Linked DNA regions of Homo sapiens: region 1 is linked to region 2. The links are contacts of gene promoters, found by promoter capture Hi-C in blood cells and fetal thymus (Javierre and others, 2016). All regions are on one chromosome and are shown on one strand. The core of a region is centred on a gene start or on the middle of the fragment in contact, and the rest is flanking DNA. Distances in the headings are between cores, read along the strand shown. Region 1 has its middle 3.1 kb from the start of LCA5. Region 2 holds the start of SH3BGRL2 (SH3 domain binding glutamate rich protein like 2).

What was found. The method cuts DNA at HindIII sites, captures the fragments that hold promoters and counts their contacts. A CHiCAGO score of 5 or more calls a contact.
Region 1: a fragment that was not itself captured here is called in contact with the fragment with the promoter of SH3BGRL2 in region 2 in 1 of 17 cell types (megakaryocytes); the score reaches 5.6 in megakaryocytes.

What each region holds. Positions count from the first base shown.
Region 1 is chr6:79,538,835-79,542,278 of GRCh38, reverse strand. It overlaps a transcript of SH3BGRL2 not described here. Among named protein-coding and RNA genes, the nearest start is that of LCA5, 3.1 kb to the right of the region's middle. RefSeq lists an enhancer at 3,232-3,444. The HindIII fragment of the contact is 5,167 bases long and covers 1-3,444 here.
Region 2 is chr6:79,629,458-79,633,101 of GRCh38, reverse strand. SH3BGRL2 (SH3 domain binding glutamate rich protein like 2) reads right to left here and starts at 1,773. Exons shown (of 4, transcript NM_031469.4): 1 at 1,596-1,773. The coding sequence starts at 1,640. The HindIII fragment of the contact is 2,885 bases long and covers 1-2,074 here.

The sequences.
Region 1 (3,444 bases), core at 58-2,557, 90 kb after region 2:
AAAAAAAAAGTAGGATATAGAAAAGGCAGGCTAGGATCTGAGAAACAAAAGGCATATAACTGGCACAATTCCAGTTCAACTCTGGCACTGGTGTAAGTGGTGGTACTCAGTGACTTCATGATGGCCACCAGCAGAAGTTGCTGGGTCCTGGAGAGAAGAGGGATAGACTGTTGCCTGGCAGAGCAGTGGTCCTGGTATCTTGCCTAGTGGGATGACCAGTAGAGGCAGGTATGTTTGTAAGTATGAGACACTCTCTAGGAAGTCCCAGAAATTATTGGTGGGGAAGTCTTTGGAGGGGAGGGGTGCTATAAAGCAGAGGCAGTCAAAAAATAACAAAATTTGGTTAATCTCATCTGTATTTACAGACTGGGGAACTTGTAATTACAAGAGTTTTTCTTAAATAAAATGTGAAAACAAGCCCACCAGACTGATCTATGAACCTATTTGAATAAAATTATTATCATCACTTTTGGGGACATCTATTAGCTTTGTCCAGTATTTCTTCTTCTAGTAACAGCATTCCAGTTTTCCTGTGGAGAATCACCTCACTATTCTGAGCAAACATGAAAGATAAGGTGACTTTATCATATTCTTTCCCGAAGCAAACTCTTGGCCACAGTACTTACTAATAGTTCATATTCAAGTGTGGGCAGTCAGAGTTAATACCAAGATTTCTGCTGGACCAATCAGGAAAGAGATATTCTTTTTCCACTGGGGTTGTGAGGTAAATAGAATGTAAATCTGGAGCACTGGTGGCCATACCTGGAAGGGAAAGCCTGCCTTAAATAAGACCAACACGTAGAAAAGTACATCCAAGAGACAAAGAGAAGAAAAAATTTTAATAACATTGAGCACTTGGATCCAACCATACGTGGAGCTAGGTCTACTAGATTTTTCTGTTATACAAACCAATGCATTCTTTTTTTTTAAGCCATTCAGAAATTGAGGTAAAATTTACATACAGTGAAAAGCACACATATTTTATATATTTTAATGAATTTTGATAAAGGAAACTTCTTTTTTTTTGAGACTGAGTCTCACTCTGCCGCCCAGGCTGGAGTGCAGTGGTGTGATCTCAGCTCACTGCAACCTTTGCCTCCCAGGTTCAAGCAATTCTCCTGCCTCAGCCTCACGTGAAGCTGGGACTGCAGGCACACACCACCACGTCTGGCTAATTTTGTATTTTTAGTAGAAATGGGGGTCTCACCATGTTGGCCAGACTGGTCTCAAACTCCTCACCTCAAGTGATCTGCCCACTTCGGCCTACCAAAGTGCTGGGATTACAGGCATGAGCCACCATGCCCGGCTGGAAACTCTCTTTAACTACCACGTCAGTCAAAACAGCATATTCACATCACTCCAAAAATAACTTTCAGTCCCTTCCACTTGATCCTACCTCCATCCCCACAGTCAATAACTGTTCTAATTTTTTCCAGTTTAGATGAATTTTGCCTGTTTTTGAATCACTTATTAATGGAAGTATACAGAATATATTCTTTTGTGTCTGACTTCTTTTGCTCAATATTGTCTTTAAAATTAATCCGTGTTAATCAGTAGTTCATTCTATCGATGACCAGCATTATGTTGTAAGTATATACACATTTTTACAAACATCTCAAGTTTTCTTTCTCCATTAACAAAAAAAAACTCGTACATTTCATCAAGTGATCAGAAACTGTATCCTTTAAACAGAGCAATAATCAAAGGCTACTAGCTTTTTGTACTGCAAAATCAAGTATTCATAGCAATCAGATTAGACTACATTTGTTTTCATCAGAGCAGCCCACTTTCTAGGTATGAAATTATACTATTTATTTATTTTATTTATTTATTTATTTATTTTTGAGACGGAATCTTGCTCTGTTGCCCAGGCTGGAGTGCAGTGGCGCGATCTCGGCTCACTGCAACCTCCGCCTCCCGGGTTCATGCCATTCTCCTGCCTCAGCCTCCCGAGTAGCTGGGACTACAGGCACCCGCCACCACGCCCAGCTCATTTTTTTGTATTTTTATTAGAGACAGGGTTTTACTGTGTTAGCCAGGATGGTCTTGATCTCCTGACCTCGTGATCCACCCACCTTGGCCTCCCAAAGTGCTGGGATTACAGGCATGAGCCACAGCACCCGGCCAATTATACTGTTCTTTACACCCAACTCAACCAATCCATTCGATTTCTCTTAAACATGCAGCATATTAGATACTGTTTCAAATTTAGTGTTATATGCTAAAACCAACTATTTACCTAGAATCTATTAATAAATTTAAAATTTCCAAGCAACATGAGATCAAGAAGTTAGAGAAAAAATTTTTGAATTTTTGTTATGTATCACATTTCTGTAAATTATATAAAATTGTGACACTGCTTTTCTTCTTTTGTAGAATGGTATGAAATAGATGACTGAACTTTAGCTAAGGATAATTATACTTATGTGCTTTCCAAGATACTATATATAGTATGTCCCCCCACTTTACAAATTATGGTCATTGTAATTTCTCTGTCTACAGTTAGAGAGTCTATTTATCTACCTATTACTTTTTTGAAACTTCTAACCAACCATTCAAACTCGACACTAGTTTCCCCAAAGGAAAATGAGAATAATCCTACTAGTAAGCATTTGTAGGAATATTTTAGTTACATTATAACATCTACATCATTGCCATATGGCAATAAAGAAGCCAATCAAAGTCCTACAGAAAATGAACATTCAGTTAGCAATGTAGCAAATCTGGAGATATTGCAGTATCAATGGAAGAAGCCCAGGATATTAAAAATAAAACTCCAAAGTGCTTAATGACCATTGCAGAATTTGTTTCATAAACAAAATCTTTAAAAACAAGAGTCTGATTTCTGTTAACTATAATTTCAAGTGGCAGAAATATAAATGTGGTTTTGATAACTTTGTTTCCTTTATTTCTGAAAAGCAGAATCCTGTGTGGTACTGAAATAAAATGTCAAATGGTATCTTAGAAAATTCTAGCCCTATCAAAAATAATATATAAAACCATGTAATGTCATAAAACTTTTAAAACTGCTTTCTCATATTTTGGGGTAACCTTTTAAAATGGTAATTCAATAAACTAGTTTTTACTTCTGTAAATTTATACATTTTTTGGTCTTTTTTCAAGGTCAAACTGATACTGTTATTTTGAATATGAGGGGGTGAATAAAATTGCACACTGTAAGAATCCTGAGACTATGTTACACACAACTAGACAATTTTTTGGATTCTCCCAGCGTCTTAAATATTTTCTTGCTTACCAACAACTTCTTAACCTGTAGGTGAAACACAATGAAGGCACTAAATCCGAAACCACGAAATTTGGAAGCAGACCTAGGCTTGTACTCTGGCATTACTACTTACTACTTTCGTACCTTGTGGTAGATACTTTAACTTCTCTGAATCTGCTTTCTCAAGTATAAACAATGAATAACAATACCTGTCTGGA
Region 2 (3,644 bases), core at 524-3,023:
CTGAAAAAACAAAGATGTGGAGTACCAAAACTATCTCAATATACTACCTACTAATAGAGTAAGCCAAGTCATTACCTTGACTTGGTCCGACTTGCTCCAAAGTAGCCTAGGCTTTATCTCTTGTGGAAGGGATAAAAACCATTCCTTCCATAATCAATATAATGCTATTGGGACAATTATTGAAGCATGCAAGTCGGTGGTGAAACCAAGAGCTTTGTAGCATTCTTAGTAAGGAGTGCATTTGAACAAATCTACCCTTGAAACAGTGCCAGTTTGCAAACACATGAAGTGTGGCTTCAGTGGGGAAATCTACAAAAGGCAGGCATGACTAAGCAACCCAAATAGCTAGAAACACCAGAAACTGTCAGAAGTCTGAGGACCCCAACATGACTGCACATAAGTGTAAGTTGGATTTTCCCATCTATTGTTTCTAGTGCAAATGGGGGTGGAGGGGCTTTGTATGATCGTGTTGGTTTCTTTTTAAATAAAAAACTTCAGTGGTGTACAAGGATTTTCAAACAATATTTTATTCCATCCTCCACTCCACCCACTTAAGAAACAAATTTTGGAACAATCTGACTGAGCTACTGGGCAGACAATTGACCAGACCAAATTTAAGCAATCTACAATGCACTTTTTGATGTTACTTGATTATATATGTCACAAAGGAGGCTCTTAAATCTATAGCTGAACTCTTGGTTAAGGAAACCAAGTCTCAATAATCATGTAAAACACATGTGCTATGTCCCTTAGTGGGCTGTCAAATATACTAACTACTGAATTTTCCTTAAATTCTGACATCTCTAGCTATTTAACTTTCCTTTCTTTAAAAAAATTTTTTTTCTCTAAAAAAATTCAAGAACATCCACCAAAGAGAATAGCTAAAAATAATTAAATAGAAAACCACAATTCATAGATCCCCAGGATAAAATTTCCACAGCATTACAGGTGGAAAGAAAATGCGTGCATACACACACATTTACATAAAGATGTAAAAATATTTATGGCACCCTAAGAAAAAAAATGACAGTGAAAGCAAACAATCCTACCACAACAGGACAAACCTAGTTTTACTATTCTCTTTGCGCAGGTATAAAACTAAACAAATGCACTTGCTGGCGGGGAAGGGAGGACAGAGAGCAATTCCCACTTAAACTTGCTTCATTCAGGAGCTAGGGTAACAAACCAAAGCAGCAGAAAAGGCTCCCGTGCAAAACATAACCAGTCTGAAGGTCCCAAATCGGGAAGAACTAAACTAGGGGAAGGGGGATCCCCGAAGCTCTTGAACAACCCGTTCCCCAAATTTCCATGCCACACAACAGGAGCTGGGGGCTTCCCTCGGACTCCATTTTCAGGCCGCGTTGTCTGCCTTTCAGGCCACGCAGGGTGGGCATTTGGGTGAGGCCGGGGTCCCCCACCCACCTTTCCTCCCCGCCCTCTTCATTGTTGTCGGAGTGTGATGGATCACCTGCCGGGCGCGGGCTCCCGCGGGCGGACCGGCTGAGCGCAAGGACGCGCAGTGACGAGCGCCGCGCGCCTCCCGCAGGACCCGCGCCCCGCGACCCCAACCTACTGCCCGCCCCCACCGCGCTCACCGCCACGAAGCCCGAGGAAGAGGCGATGAACACGCGGATGACCATCCTCTCGCTGCGCCCGGGACAGACCCCTTGCCCCCCGGGCTCCGGGCTGGCGTGGACGCAGAGCTGAACCCAGCTACGAGCCGCCGGCAGCCTCTGGGTAAAGCGCTGCCGTCGGGGAAGATCGCTGGGATCTGGCTCCCTCCCGGCGGGTCCGCAGATAAAAGCCCAGCGCCGCCCGGCCGCAGGCTGAAGGGGAAGGAGAGGGAGGAGGAGGGAGCCGGCTGCGGGGCTTGATGGGATTTGTAGTTTCCGTCTCTCCCTGGAGTGGCTGGTGGACTGAGCTCCCCTCCTGACCGCGCTTCTATCCCGAACACGCGCAGGTGGCTGGAGGGGAGCCACAGCCCGGGCAGAAGCTGTGAGGTGGGTTGGCAAGGATCCTGGCTTGATGAGGAAAAAGCAAACTAGGCAAAAGGGCTCGGTTCAAAGTCCAAGCTTGGGTTCTGTATTGTGGTTTATTGGTTTGGAGCATCCACACCCAGAAATGCCAACAGACACGATCGTGCTGCGGGCACACATCGTCTCAGGGCCGCTGGCGTACCGGGCAAACCCCAGCTACCTGAAGCAGGCGGGATCGGCGAGCCGGGTGCTTGGGAGGTGTGGGCGGTGGGGTTGGGCTCGTTTGTTTGTCCAGTAGCACTGGAGATTGCAGAAAGGTGATTCTTTTGGGTAAATGAGAGGTCTTCTCTTGTCTGTACACACTGAAAATTAGAAACCCAGATGGAAGCACAACCAATATTTTATTTTTCTCAGCAAAACTGTAATTGTAGTAGAAAAAAATAAATACCAAACGAAATTGGAATCCTTCTATCAACATTGGAAATCAGGACCCTACCTGCCCCACCCCTCCCTACACAATGGCTTCGCCTCTGTGCACCTAATATTTACAGTTCAGCCAAATCTGTGCCTTTTTCAGAACCGCTGCACATTCCAGCGCAGTTTCCCAGGAGGATGCTGTTAAATAAAAAGCTTCTATATAGTTGCTAATAGTTTAGGAATAGTTTTTTATCAAGTGCTTTCTGTTTGACAAAAGCTCAAGCCTCTCTCTCAGTTTTGTCGAAAGGAACCAGTTTTCCCTGCTGTACTGTATTTACTTTTTTCCTTTCAACACGGGAGTTTAGCAGAGGTCTGGGAACAATGTTAATTAAGAAAAAGTAAGAAATTAGATGATGAGGTCTCTGGCTCTTTGATACATTTCTTGCACAAAGAGCAATCATTATGAAGTATTTTTTAGAACAGTTATGAATATTTCAAATTTATAACCTTTCCTATTGCTTTTCTTAAAGCCATTTCTGTAGTAGGAATCTTTTTAAATTTCCTTCAATAATAGAAGAGACACTCCTAATGGGACTTTATTTCTTCTTCGTGTTTAAAATTTTAAATAGAAGTTTTGCTGTCTTTAGTATCTCTCGGCAAATGTACTTTAATTTTGCTACCATAAATGTGGAAATGCACGTTTATAAAATAGAAAATAATTTTCTTAAAAGTAGATACCGTATTTCCTATATAAATGCAAATCTTTATAAAAGTCAGCATTTTCTTCAGTTTGGAATTATTCAGCTATGAAGATATAGTTAAACTCAAATAATTGGAACTCAGAGCCTACTCTGTGAAAGGTACAAGAATGGATAAAAAGTTGAACGAGTCATTTCTCTGTCAGCAGAGCACCTATTGTCTAGGAAAGAAAAAGACAGATACAGAAATAGTGACAGAACAAGACACACTGTACTAATACAGTGTTGTGTGGATGTAAAGGAAAAAGGTGGCCATAGAAGGTACTTTAAAGATGAGTAGAATTTCTGTCTGCAGATAGGGAGGATGCAGGGTGAGACTATTCAGGGTGTGTGAGGAGAACAGCAAGGAGTTGGTTTTGCTTCAGAAAGGAATATGAGGGAACTAGTAGAGGACAATGCTGAAAAAGTAGGTTTGAATGAATGCCAACAAAGGACTTTCTCACTGGGTTATCTGCTCAGCTCCTTGGGATTTCTGCTCCTTTCCTCTGATCCT